Linked DNA regions of Homo sapiens: region 1 is linked to region 2. Evidence: promoter capture Hi-C in human tissues and cell types (Jung and others, 2019). All regions are on one chromosome and are shown on one strand. Each heading gives the region's core, a stretch centred on a gene start or on the middle of the fragment in contact. The rest is flanking DNA. Distances are from core to core; before and after follow the strand shown.

What was found. The method cuts DNA at HindIII sites, captures the fragments that hold promoters and counts their contacts. A contact is called where the count stands out against the background at its distance.
Region 1: a contact is called between a fragment that was not itself captured here and the fragment with the promoter of SEC61A1 in region 2, in 1 of the 25 tissues and cell types used here (dorsolateral prefrontal cortex).

The regions. Positions count from the first base shown.
Region 1 is chr3:128,687,097-128,692,913 of GRCh38, forward strand. No RefSeq gene overlaps it. Among named protein-coding and RNA genes, the nearest start is that of RAB7A, 36 kb to the right of the region's middle. The HindIII fragment of the contact is 7,361 bases long and covers 56-5,817 here.
Region 2 is chr3:128,049,015-128,054,539 of GRCh38, forward strand. It overlaps SEC61A1 (SEC61 translocon subunit alpha 1), which reads left to right and starts at 3,423. Exons shown (of 12, transcript NM_013336.4): 1 at 3,423-3,545; 2 at 3,821-3,888. The coding sequence starts at 3,539. It overlaps LOC102723759 (a long non-coding RNA gene), which reads right to left and starts at 3,161. Exons shown (of 4, transcript XR_007096073.1): 1 at 2,948-3,161. RefSeq lists a cis regulatory region at 2,988-3,604 and a silencer at 3,097-3,736. The HindIII fragment of the contact is 6,890 bases long and covers 544-5,525 here.

The DNA of each region.
Region 1 (5,817 bases), core at 2,486-4,985, 640 kb after region 2:
TGTGGTGGAAGGATTGCTTGAGCCTAGGAAGTTGAGGCTGTAGTGAGCCGTGATTGAGTCAATGCAGTCCAGCCAGGGTGACAGAGTGAGACCCTGTCTTAAAACAAAACAAAATCTTTGCCTTCCCAGAGTTTACATTTTCCTGGGGTGACACAATGAACAAACAAATACGTCAAGTGGTAGTAAATGTTAAGAAGAAGACAAAATCAGGATAAGGGGATAGAGATGCAGTTGATACTTTAGAGAAGATGGTCAGAAAAGACCTCATTGAGTTGGTGATACTTGATCTGGGACCCCAAGAGAAGAGTGCTTCTGGCAGAAAGAACAAGTATAAATTCCTCGACATGGGAATGTGCTTGGTATGGTTGAAGAAGAGCATGATGAGGCCAGATGCCTAAAATTGAATGAAATCAAAGAAGGCGTATGAACTAGATCATGTAGAGCCCCGTATGCTAGGATAAAGAGAGTGATTTATTTAAGTAAAATAAAGGTTACTTGGGGGGAAAATGAAAAAATAAATACATAATTTTAAAAGATAGTGGTTTTTTGTTTTGTTTTTTTGTTTTTATGAGACAGGGCCTATATTTGCCCTAGGCTGGAGTGCAGTGGTGCAATCTTGGCTCATTGCAATCTCTGATTCCAAGGCTCAAGCAGTCCTACCTCAGCCTCCTGAGTAGCTGAGACTACAGGCGTGTGCCATCATACCCAGATAATTCTTTTTGTATGTTTTTGTTTTTGTTTTTGTTTTTTTTTGAGACAGATTCTCGCTTTGTCACCCAGGCTGGAGTGCCATGGCACGATCTCGGCTCACTGCAGCCTCCACCTCCTGAGTTCAAAAGATTCTTCTGCCTCAGCCTCCCGAGTAGCTGGGACTACAGGTGCACGCCACCACGCCCAGCTAATTTTTGTATTTGTAGTAGAGACAGTTTCGCCATATTGTCCAGGCTGGTCTCAAACTCCTGACCTTGTGATCCACCCGCCTCGGCCTCCCAAAGTGCTGGGATTACAGGTATGAGCCACTGCGCCCAGCCTGTATTTTTAGTAAGAGATGGGGTTTCACCATGTTGCCCAGGCTGGTCTCAAACTCGGCTCAAGCGATCTGCCCCAGTCAGCCTCCCAGAGTGCTGGGATTATAGGCATGAGCCACCAGGCCTGGCCAAGATAGTGATTTTTTAAAATTTAGTTTTAATTTTTTTTAGAGATGAGGTCATACTATGTTGCCCAGGCTGGTCTCCAACTCCTGGGCTTACACAGTCTTCCCACCTCAGCCTCCTAAATCATTGGAATTACAGGCGTGAGCCACTGCGCCTGGCCTGGATAGTGATTTTTAAAAGATGAGAAACTTCAAACTTCTCAGCAGAGGGTGACATATCTGGATTTAGGTTTCTTAAAGACCACTCAAATAAGTTATAAAATCTACATATGTGGTGTTTTGATGTATACTGATCCACGTTTCCTGGCGCATACTCTATAGCGTTTGTTACAGTCTTTTGTTACAATGCTGGGTATGTTAGGCCTCACAGCAGGCCTCTGACCTTCTCCTGCCCTCCTTCCACTCTAATGTTCTCCACCTCTCTGATTGTGGGTCTTCAGACCCTCCCATGAGAAGGTCCCACCTTATATATACTCTGAAGGAGGAAGGAATGCTGATGGCAAGAAGCTTCCATAAAAATCCAAGATAGGCCGGGCGCGGTGGTTCACACCTCTAATCCCAGCACTTTGGGAGGCCAAGGCGGACAGATCACGAGGTCAGGAGATCGAGACCAGTCTGGCCAACATGGTGAAACCCCGTCTCTACTAAAAATACAAAAATTAGCCAGGCGTGGTGGCAGGCGCCTGTAATTCCAGCTACTCGGGAGGCTGAGGCAGGAGAACAGCGTGAACCTGGGAGGCGGAGATTGCAGTGAGCTGAGATCACACCACTGCACACTCCAGCCTGGGTGACAGAGCAAGACTCCATCTCAAAAAAAAAAAAAGATTCTGGAGTTCTGGTCTGGACTTGCCACTGGTGTTGGGGGAGAGGGTGGTCTTGGAGAATGAGCAATCAACCTGTGAGATCTGACACTATCAGATAGTGTCGGAACTGAATTAGAGGACACCTACCTGGTGTCCACTGCTTGATGTGTGGGGAAAACCCCCTACACATTTGGCCACAGAAGTCTTGATGTTGATGATTGTTGTCATGTGAGAGTAGAGGAAAGATGTGGTTTACAGGGTGTTTTCACTACACAATACACTCTCAAAGACATAAAAGTAAGAGCTGGCTAGGCGTGGTGGTTCACGCCTGTAATCCCAGCACTATGGGAGGCCGAGGCCGGTGGATCACCTGAGGTCAGGAGTTCAAGACCAGCCTGGCCAACATGGTGAAACTCTGTCTCTACTGAAAAAAAATAGCCAGGTGTTGTGATGTGCGCCTATAATCCCAGCTACTCGGGAGGCTGAGGCAGGAGAATCGCTTGAACCCAGGAGGCCGAGGTTGCAGTGAGCCAAAATCGCGCCACTGCACTCCAGCCTGGGCAGCAGAGCAAGACTCCGCCTGAAAAAAAAAAAATATAAGAGCTAAAACTATAAAAATCTTAGAAGCAAGGATGGAGGGAAAGCTTCATGATTTTGGATTTGGTGATGATTTTGTGGCTATGACACCACAGGCACAGGCAACAAAAGAAAAATAGACAAACTGGGGCCGGGTGTGGTGGCTCACGCACTTTGGGAGGCTGAGGCGGGTGAATCACCTGGGCTCAGGAGTTCGAGACCACCCATGGCAACATGGTGAAACCCCATCTCTACTAAAAATACAGAAAAATTAGCTGGGAATGGTGGCGTGCTCCTGTAGTCCCAGCTACTTAGGAGGCCAAGGCGAGAATCGCTTGAGCTCTGGAGGAGGAGGTTGCAGTGAGCCAAGATTGCATCACTGCACTCCAGCTTGGGCTACAGAGTGAGACTCTGTCTCAAAAAAAAAGACAAATTAGACCTCATTGAAATTAACTTTTGTGCATTGAAGGGTTGGAAAGCTTTGATACATTTCCTCACCAATCATAAAGGTCATGGCCAACATGCCTATGACAAAAGACAGAATTACAAGAGAAAATAATAACAAACTTATTTACAACATTTTACACAATACAGGAGCTTCTGGAAATGAAGACCTAAAGACCAAGGGAAAACTATTTGTATGCTTAGGTTGAATGAAGAATGGACAGCCATGTAGAAATATGATTGGACAAAAAGGGTGTGATCTAATAGTAATACACTGAGGGGAAGAAACCCAGTAAGGTTCAAATTCTTCTTGGTCTCTCAGTGTAGCATTTCTTTGCCCTAGGTATCGGCAGGACTCTTCTGGAATGAGGGTCTTCAAGGGAGAAGAGGAGAGTAACCTCGCTTTTTTTTTCTTTCTTTTTTTTTTTTTTTTGAGACAGTCTTGTTCTGTCATCTAGGCTGGAGTGCAGTGGCATAATCTCAGCTCACTGCAACCTCTGCCTCCTGGGTTCAAGCAATTCTCCTGCCTCAACCTCCCCTGCCTCAGCCTCCTGAGTAGCTGGGACTACAGGCGTGTGCCACCACGCCCAACTTTTTTTTTTTTTTTTTTTTTTTGTATTTTTAGTAGAGACGGGGTTTCACCATGTTGGCCAGGGTGGTGTCGAACTCCTGACTTCAGGTGATCCGCCCATCTCGGCCTCCCAAAGTGCTGGGATTACAGGAATGAGCCACCGTGCCCAGCCTAGACAGAGTAACTTTTCTAGGTTTTGTGGCTAGCTCTGGGGGAGTGGGATTCTAGTTACTACAACCTGCCTTGGGAAGAAGGGTTCTGATTCTCACTTCAGTGGAGAAAGAGGGATGGGAGATAGGAGGGCAGGAGAAGGTCAGAGAGAGACTTTGCTTCTGGAACCTTTCAGTCTCCTTTAGTTCAAAGCACTCAGCATGCTAAAGCAGCATACTTTGGGGTATCATTTTCTGAGCCTGAACAGCATCAAAGAAAAACAAAGGGTTCTGGTATATTTATGGGAGGCCATTGATTTGGTTTTTTTGTTTGTTTGTTTTATGAGACACGGTCTCACTCTGTTGCCCAGGCTGGCGTGTAGCGATGCCATCATGACTTACTGCAGTCTTGACCTCCTGGGCTCAAGCGATCTTACCACTTCATCCTCCCCGGTAATTGGGACTACTATTTTTTTGTAGAGAAGAGGTTTCATCATACTGCCCAGGCTATTGTTGAACTCCTGAGCTCAAGGGATCCTCCCACCTCGGCCCCTGAAAGTGCTAGAATTACAGGTGTGAGCCACAGTGCCTGGCCAAATGGAGGCCATTGATTTGTACTGAGCTCCTCCTACACTAGGCCCCTACAGGCTGACCCAAAATGGAGTCACTCATGCTAAGGTTCCATGTCACCAAACTGAAACCTAAGCTGTTTGCTTATAAGATCTGACCTTAGGGCTGGGCGTGGTGGCTCACGCCTGTAATCCCAGCACTTTGGGAGGCCGAGGCGGGTGGATCACTTGAGGTCAGGAGTTCGAGACCAGCCTGACCAACATGGTGAAACCCCATCTCTACTAAAAATACAAAAATTAGCTGGGTGTGGTAGTGCATGTCTGTAATCCCAGCTACTTGGGAGGCTGAGGCAGGAGAATTGCATGAACCCAGGAGGCAAACGTTGCCGTGAGCTGAGATCGTGCCACTGGACTCCAGCCTGCGCAACAGAGCAAAACTCTTGTCTAAAAAAAAAAAAAAAAATCTGACCTTCTGAGAAATCAGGAGAGAGGCAACAGTCAAATCCCCAATAGGTCAGTTTTACAAAAAAATAGATTCACAGCAACCAATCAAAAGGGGCCCATTCAACCTAAGCTGCTTGATAAGGAAGTCCCCTCTGCTTTAAGCCATGCAAGGAAAGTAACCCGAAGGAACCTAATGTTAACCAATCCACTTTTTTTTTTTTTTTGAGATGGAGTCTCGCTCTGTAGCCCAGGCTGGAGTGCAGTGGCGCAATCTCGGCTCACTGCAACCTCCGCCTTCCGGGTTCACGCCATTCTCCTGCCTCAGCCTCCCAAGTAGCTGGGACTACAGGCGCCCGCCACCAAGCCCGGCTCATTTTTTTTGTATTTTTAGTAGAGACGGGGTTTCACCATGTTAGCCAGGATGGTCTCGATCTCCTGACCTCGTGATCTGCCCTCCTTGGCCTCCCAAAGTGCTGGGATTACAGGCATGAGCCACCGCGCCCAGCCAACCAATCCACTTTTTCCACTATGCTGTTTCCTTGTTCCTGGTCAAGCTGCCTGCCTTAGAAAAACCTACTGCTCTGCCATGCCTGGTAGAGCTCCTGTCTATTTTGTAGGCTGGATGTTGCTCAGTTCATGAATCACCAATAAAAGCTAATTAGATCTTTATTTTTTTTACAGACAGTGTCTTGCTCTGTCACCCAGGCTACAGTGCAGTAGTGCAATCCTAGCTCACTGTAACCTTAAACTCCTAGGCTCTGGTGATCCCCCCACCCCGGCCTCCCAAAGTAAGGAGATTACAAGCATGAGATACCACATCTAGCCAAATCTTTAAAACTCAATGTGTTGAAATTGTGTTTTTGACACAACACACAGAATAGGAGAAAATATTTGTGAATCATATATCTGATAAGAGATTAATATCCAGAATGCATGCAGAACTCCTAAAACTCAACAACAGAAAACCCATTTTCAAAATAAGCAAGGGTTGCACAGCAATCTGAACATACTTAATATCTGTGTGAGATAGAGGAACAAACCTAAGTGATTTTTCCTACTCTTACCCAGTCACTCAACACTGCCAACAGCAGATATGCGGGGGTTATTT
Region 2 (5,525 bases), core at 2,173-4,672:
CACATTTTTCCTAAACTTTTGGCTGAAACTCCATACTCTCTCTAGAATTACATTAGCATTTTTTGTATAAAATCCAATGACAATTTTCTTATTTGGTACAATATTCCAATTACATCTTTATGGAACTATATCTCAAATGTAATTCTTTCTTGTGTACTCATAATAAAGACAATACAGTGTACTAAATGTTTCCCAGTGTCATAAGATCAACAAAAACCATTATATTCAAAAACCTTTAAATTTGCATTTTAATTATTAAAACACATTCACATAAAAAAATGAAGCTTCTTAGATGATGATTTTAAATACACCTCTTTGATTTACATATTTTTCAAAAAGCTGTTTTCTCATTTGGGTACATCTGGTTTTTAACAGGTGGGTCCAGAATACAATGGCGTGTTCATATCAATATTAATCCTTTTGAAGTTCTAGTAAATGTGTGTGAAATGCTCAATTATACTTAACTATATAATAGTGCTAAAAATTCTGACAGTACCTTCTAAATCTTTTTTTTTTTTTTTTTTTTTTTTTGAGACAGAGTCTCGCTCTGTTGCCCAGGCTGGAGTGCAGTGATGAGATCTCGGTTTACTGCAACCTCCACCCCCCAGGGTTCTAGCCATTCTCATGTCTCAGCCTCCTGAGTAGTTGGGACTACAGGCACGCACCACCATGCTCAGCTAATTTTTTATTTTTAGTAGAGGCGAGATTTCACCATGTTGGCCAGGCTGGTCTCGAACTCCTGGCCTCAAGTGATCTGCCCACCTTGGCTTCCCAAAGTGCTGGGATTTCATGAGCCACCAAGCTTGGCCCTAAATCTTTTTGATTGCTTTATCCTCACTCTGATAACCTTTTTGGGAGTTCTAAGTTTTCAAATACTTAATTTATGAAACTGATTATATTCTTTTAAGTTCTTTTCTCATCGATAATCACAATTTTTCTTCACTTGCACAAGCTTTAAGAGCATTCTGATGAATATATGTTTAACACTTTGATCTTTTAACAATAGAACTTCTGAGCACTCAGTACCCAACATTTCTGTCACTAGCAATGTCAAATTTTTGGTTGAAAAAAATTATTTTTTCACTACAAAACTATAGATTTTATGTAATAAAGTTTATCTTATAAATTATAAATTTTATTTTGTGCTGATTCTTAAACAGTATCAAAAGAAGTTCCAGGCGGGGATTCATTATTATTACAAATTTCTTGTTTATTCTTCTGCAGATATCAAGATTTACATTTATCATACTTAAAAGTATTGAAAATTCATCCAGATTTTTGTGGTCTCTTTCATTCTAGGTGGATGTTTCTAATATCCTATAATAAAATCTTAAATGTATAAATATAAAACACTGCATACCTATTTTCCGAAGAATTAATGTATGTGCTTACAATAGAAATATTTTATTATTTTTTGAGACAGAGTCTCACTCTGTCGTCACCCAGGCTGAAGTGCAGTGGTGAGATCTCAGCTCACTGCAGCCTCGACCTCCCAGGCTCAAGGGATCCTCCCACCTCAGCCTTTCCAGTAGCTGGGACTACAGGCATGCGCCACCATGCCTAGCTAATTTTTTTCTGTATTTTTTTCTAGAGACAGGGTTTTGCCATGTTGCCCAGGCTGGTCTTGCACTCCTGGGCTCAAGTGATCCTCTTGCCTTGGCCTCCCGAAGTGCTGGGATTACTGGTGTGAGCCACTGCACCCAGTCCAATAAAAATATTTTAAACTAGTGATTCTCCTAAAGCAATCAGTGATTTAACACACGTAACTTGGCTGCAGTCCCTGCAGTGACACAGGCCAGATTGTGTCATAATGTGGAAACAACAGGAGGCCTGTTATCAATGGTACTGACATCCTACAACTATTAGCACAAACCAATGAGTTTATATTAAAATTTCTATTAACTAATTGTAATATTTATTGTAATTACTATACTATTTACCCTCGAAATATTTCAACATTTTAACCATCAATATGGTGCAGGGTGCATAATGGCTAAATATCGGATCTAGTCTATATGCTGAACTTAGTCCAGGGGCTGCCAGTTTTAGCTTCAGGCCAAAACTCCAGAAGAGATCATCAGTGGGTCCTGGAAGTGAAGATGGGTTGCATTTCAGACTCTGAATAAAGAGTCAATGTCTTCTTTTTCCCCTTTTTGGTGGGGGATGGATATCAAGTGATGTCACACCTAGACCACTTCACTGAAGTTACCTGCCTGTTCCCAGTAGTCCTTTGAATTTTCCACCAGTGGGTTTGTATTCCAAAAAAGACTTCCTGTCCTGTCCAACTTTCTGAGCCAAGAATGTACAAAACCTGATTATCTGCTAGAAATGGGTGAGAATGGAAAAATCCAAATAGTTGACACCTAAATTAAAAGCAAAAAAGCATCTTGCCACATATGTACCCTCAACTTCTACCTGTCCTGGTCAAGGTTTAGCTCCATGAAACCTTGCCTGATCCCACAAGGCGTGCCCACCTCCTCCCTGCTAAATGCTCACAGCATTAAGTCTGTTTCTCTTAGATGACATCATACCTACTGACTACAGATGCCTGAAAGTAAATTCCAACCCCCAGCCCCAGCATCCCTTGCCCTACCCGTTATCCCCCTTTCCCACACCGATCTTAGGCAATCACACCGCCATGCTTTGCCCACAACAGTCTCCTCAACCTGTTCCCTCATTCCTTCTCGCCAGAATCTATCAAGGCTCGGCACAAAGGTACTCTCCCAGGAGGCCTTCCTGAATTCTTCTGTGAGGCAGACTACTTCCCGAGCTGCCCCGGCCCTTCTCCGGCCAAGTCTCTCCAGAAACTCATCCCATTCGTTCTCAGATGGAAGGGGACCCACACCCACGACAAGCCTCCGGGTTTGCTTAATGACTCAGACAGCGAGGGTGCTCGGTAAGCCCCACCAGCCCGCGCCCTACTCAGCAGGTAATGACGGAGACCTACTAGGTGACGGGCGCCGCGGTAGACGCTGGGATAAGGTCCCTGCTCCAGGGAGCTTACGGTCTATTCACTAACGTCAAAGAGCAGTGAGTGCTGTTACGTGTATGGGAGCCACCAGGGTCTCCGCCTGCCTGCAGGGCCACGCGCGCACTCGACGCTTCGCGCCTGCCTCAGTTTCTCCGTGAGGCCGCACAGCCCCAGTCTCGGGAGGCGTGACACACCCTCCCCGCGCGCTCTCGCGTTACCAAGTCTGCGCAGCCGCACACCCCCAGTCCCGGCGGGCCCCGCGCGCCAGGCCCCTTCCCGACAGGCCCCAGGAGCCCCGCTGCATGCCGGGGCTTGAGGTCTCGGCGAAGCGGCGCGGCGCGGCGAAGCGCGGCGGCCGGCGGGCGCGCGTGGCAGGAAGCGGAAGCGATCCGAGGCCCGGCCCCGGCCCCGCCCCGCGCCGCGCCGCGCCGCTTGCCGCCGGGCTAGCACTGACGTGTCTCTCGGCGGAGCTGCTGTGCAGTGGAACGCGCTGGGCCGCGGGCAGCGTCGCCTCACGCGGAGCAGAGCTGAGCTGAAGCGGGACCCGGAGCCCGAGCAGCCGCCGCCATGGCAAGTGAGTCCTGTAGGGAAGCCCTATTGAGGCCGGGACGGAACAGATCCCCCTTCCCCACACCCGTGCGGTCGGGCGCCCGCCGGCCAACCCTGACCGGCCCCCTGCAGAACGCGGCCCGTGCCCCCGGCCCTTCTCGAGTATCCCCACGCGTCCGGGGTGCGGCCGGCTCCCCTGGCCCCTGCTCTCACTCGTCGTGGGCAGAAGGCGTCCCTGGGTAGCGCGGAAGGTTACTTCTCTGTGTCCCAACTCTTCCTGTTTTGTTTCTCCCATCAAAGTCAAATTTCTGGAAGTCATCAAGCCCTTCTGTGTCATCCTGCCGGAAATTCAGAAGCCAGAGAGGAAGGTAAGTACCCCAAATCGCCAACAAAGAAGGTTTCAGGAAACTGTCTGGACTCTGGAAGTTTACAGTATGATTAAAAATGGCTTCAGCACGGCAATGGAAACTCTCCCTTCTCTTCCCTTGGAGTGTAGTTGTGCTCTGTTATTCCGGAGAGCTGTCGAAAGGTGACCTGGTTGTGTGGAAATTTCCACTGAAATCACTGTGCTTTATTTGGAGCATCTTTGGTGGATGTTGCTCCGAGAACAAAGCCTCCGGTTGCCCTGTCCCAAAAATGGATCCGGGCCATGAATGAATAAGGCCTCAGTTAGGATAGCAGATTGAGTTACCCTCCCTTTTTCACCTCCAACGGGAGCAGATCACGGGTTGGTTTTTTTTCCCAGGAGATGCCCTTTGTATCCAGCTGCTAAAGGGAAGGGCTGTCACTTTAGTATTTACAAATGATTTTGTACCTTTTATGTAGGCTGTCACAATAGGGGGAATAAAGGCTATTCTTTTGTGAAGTCTGCTGCTTTTCACAGACGGTGTATTAAAACAAGGAAAGATTAAATTTAGAGCTGTGCTGAATCAGAAATTGTGTGGAGTGAGTGTTGCCAGTGTAACTACAGCTGTCAACGAAAAAAAGTTTCATTAGGTTCCTAGGTTAGAGAGTGGGGAATAAAATGTTTGTGTCCTCACATTATTTTTCAAACTGTTGTTAAAGCATTCACATGGACACTTGGGTGCTTGGAATCCACTTTCATTTTTTTACGTAAAATAGTTTCATATAAATGCCCATGTGCTGCTTTTAATGGACGAATTTGTAAAGCTTTACCCCCTCAATTCCAGTGTAGCGAAGGGGCATGGCTCTGGAGGCAGGCAAGCCTAGGTCCCACCCTTTACATAGCACCTTAATAGCTATGTGACCTTGGCCTTGTAACTCAGTGTGGTAGACGGAACAAGGGAAATACGTGCAAGGTATAGCAGTGGCTCAGGAAGGGATTAACTCTGGGAGACATGATGTCTTATGGTGGTTTTGAAGGAGAAATAGAAGTCTCCTTGAAGGGACGGAAAGGAATTCCAAATAAAAGGAGTATATAGTTTGCAAAGGCATTGGTGACAAGAGTGTAGCATGTTTGGATGGGAGGTTATTAGATGTAGTTGCTATTGATAGAACATAATTGTAGGTGGGGAACATTAGGAGATGAATAACAAGGGCCAGACATGAGAATGTCACTTTGGAAGAAAAGGAGAGGACTAGAGTTGGTTTAGAGGCTTTTCACATCAGAGGATGAACTGTGGTACTGAGCAAGAATGGATTTAGGGGCTACTAAGAAGCAGAGGAGACAGGACTTGGATAAAGAGCTTTTGGGGTTTTGATGTTAAATTTGATTGTAACCAGGAGAGAGGACTTGGTGATTAGAAAGGGAGTTTTGAAAAAATTGTCTGCTCTTTGTTTCCCATCAAGATTCATTTCAGACAGGTTACTCTGAAATGGCGTTGCCTTCTCTTGGCCACTTTCTAATTTCTTAGTGTGGTGGGATGGTAGGTGGGAAGAGGACCATTCTCAAGAGAAGAAGAGTCCTGTGAATGCCCCCAGCTTTGGATGGAGTATCTGAACACTGATTCACCCACTGTTGTGTGGCCGTATGACTGTGTCCTAC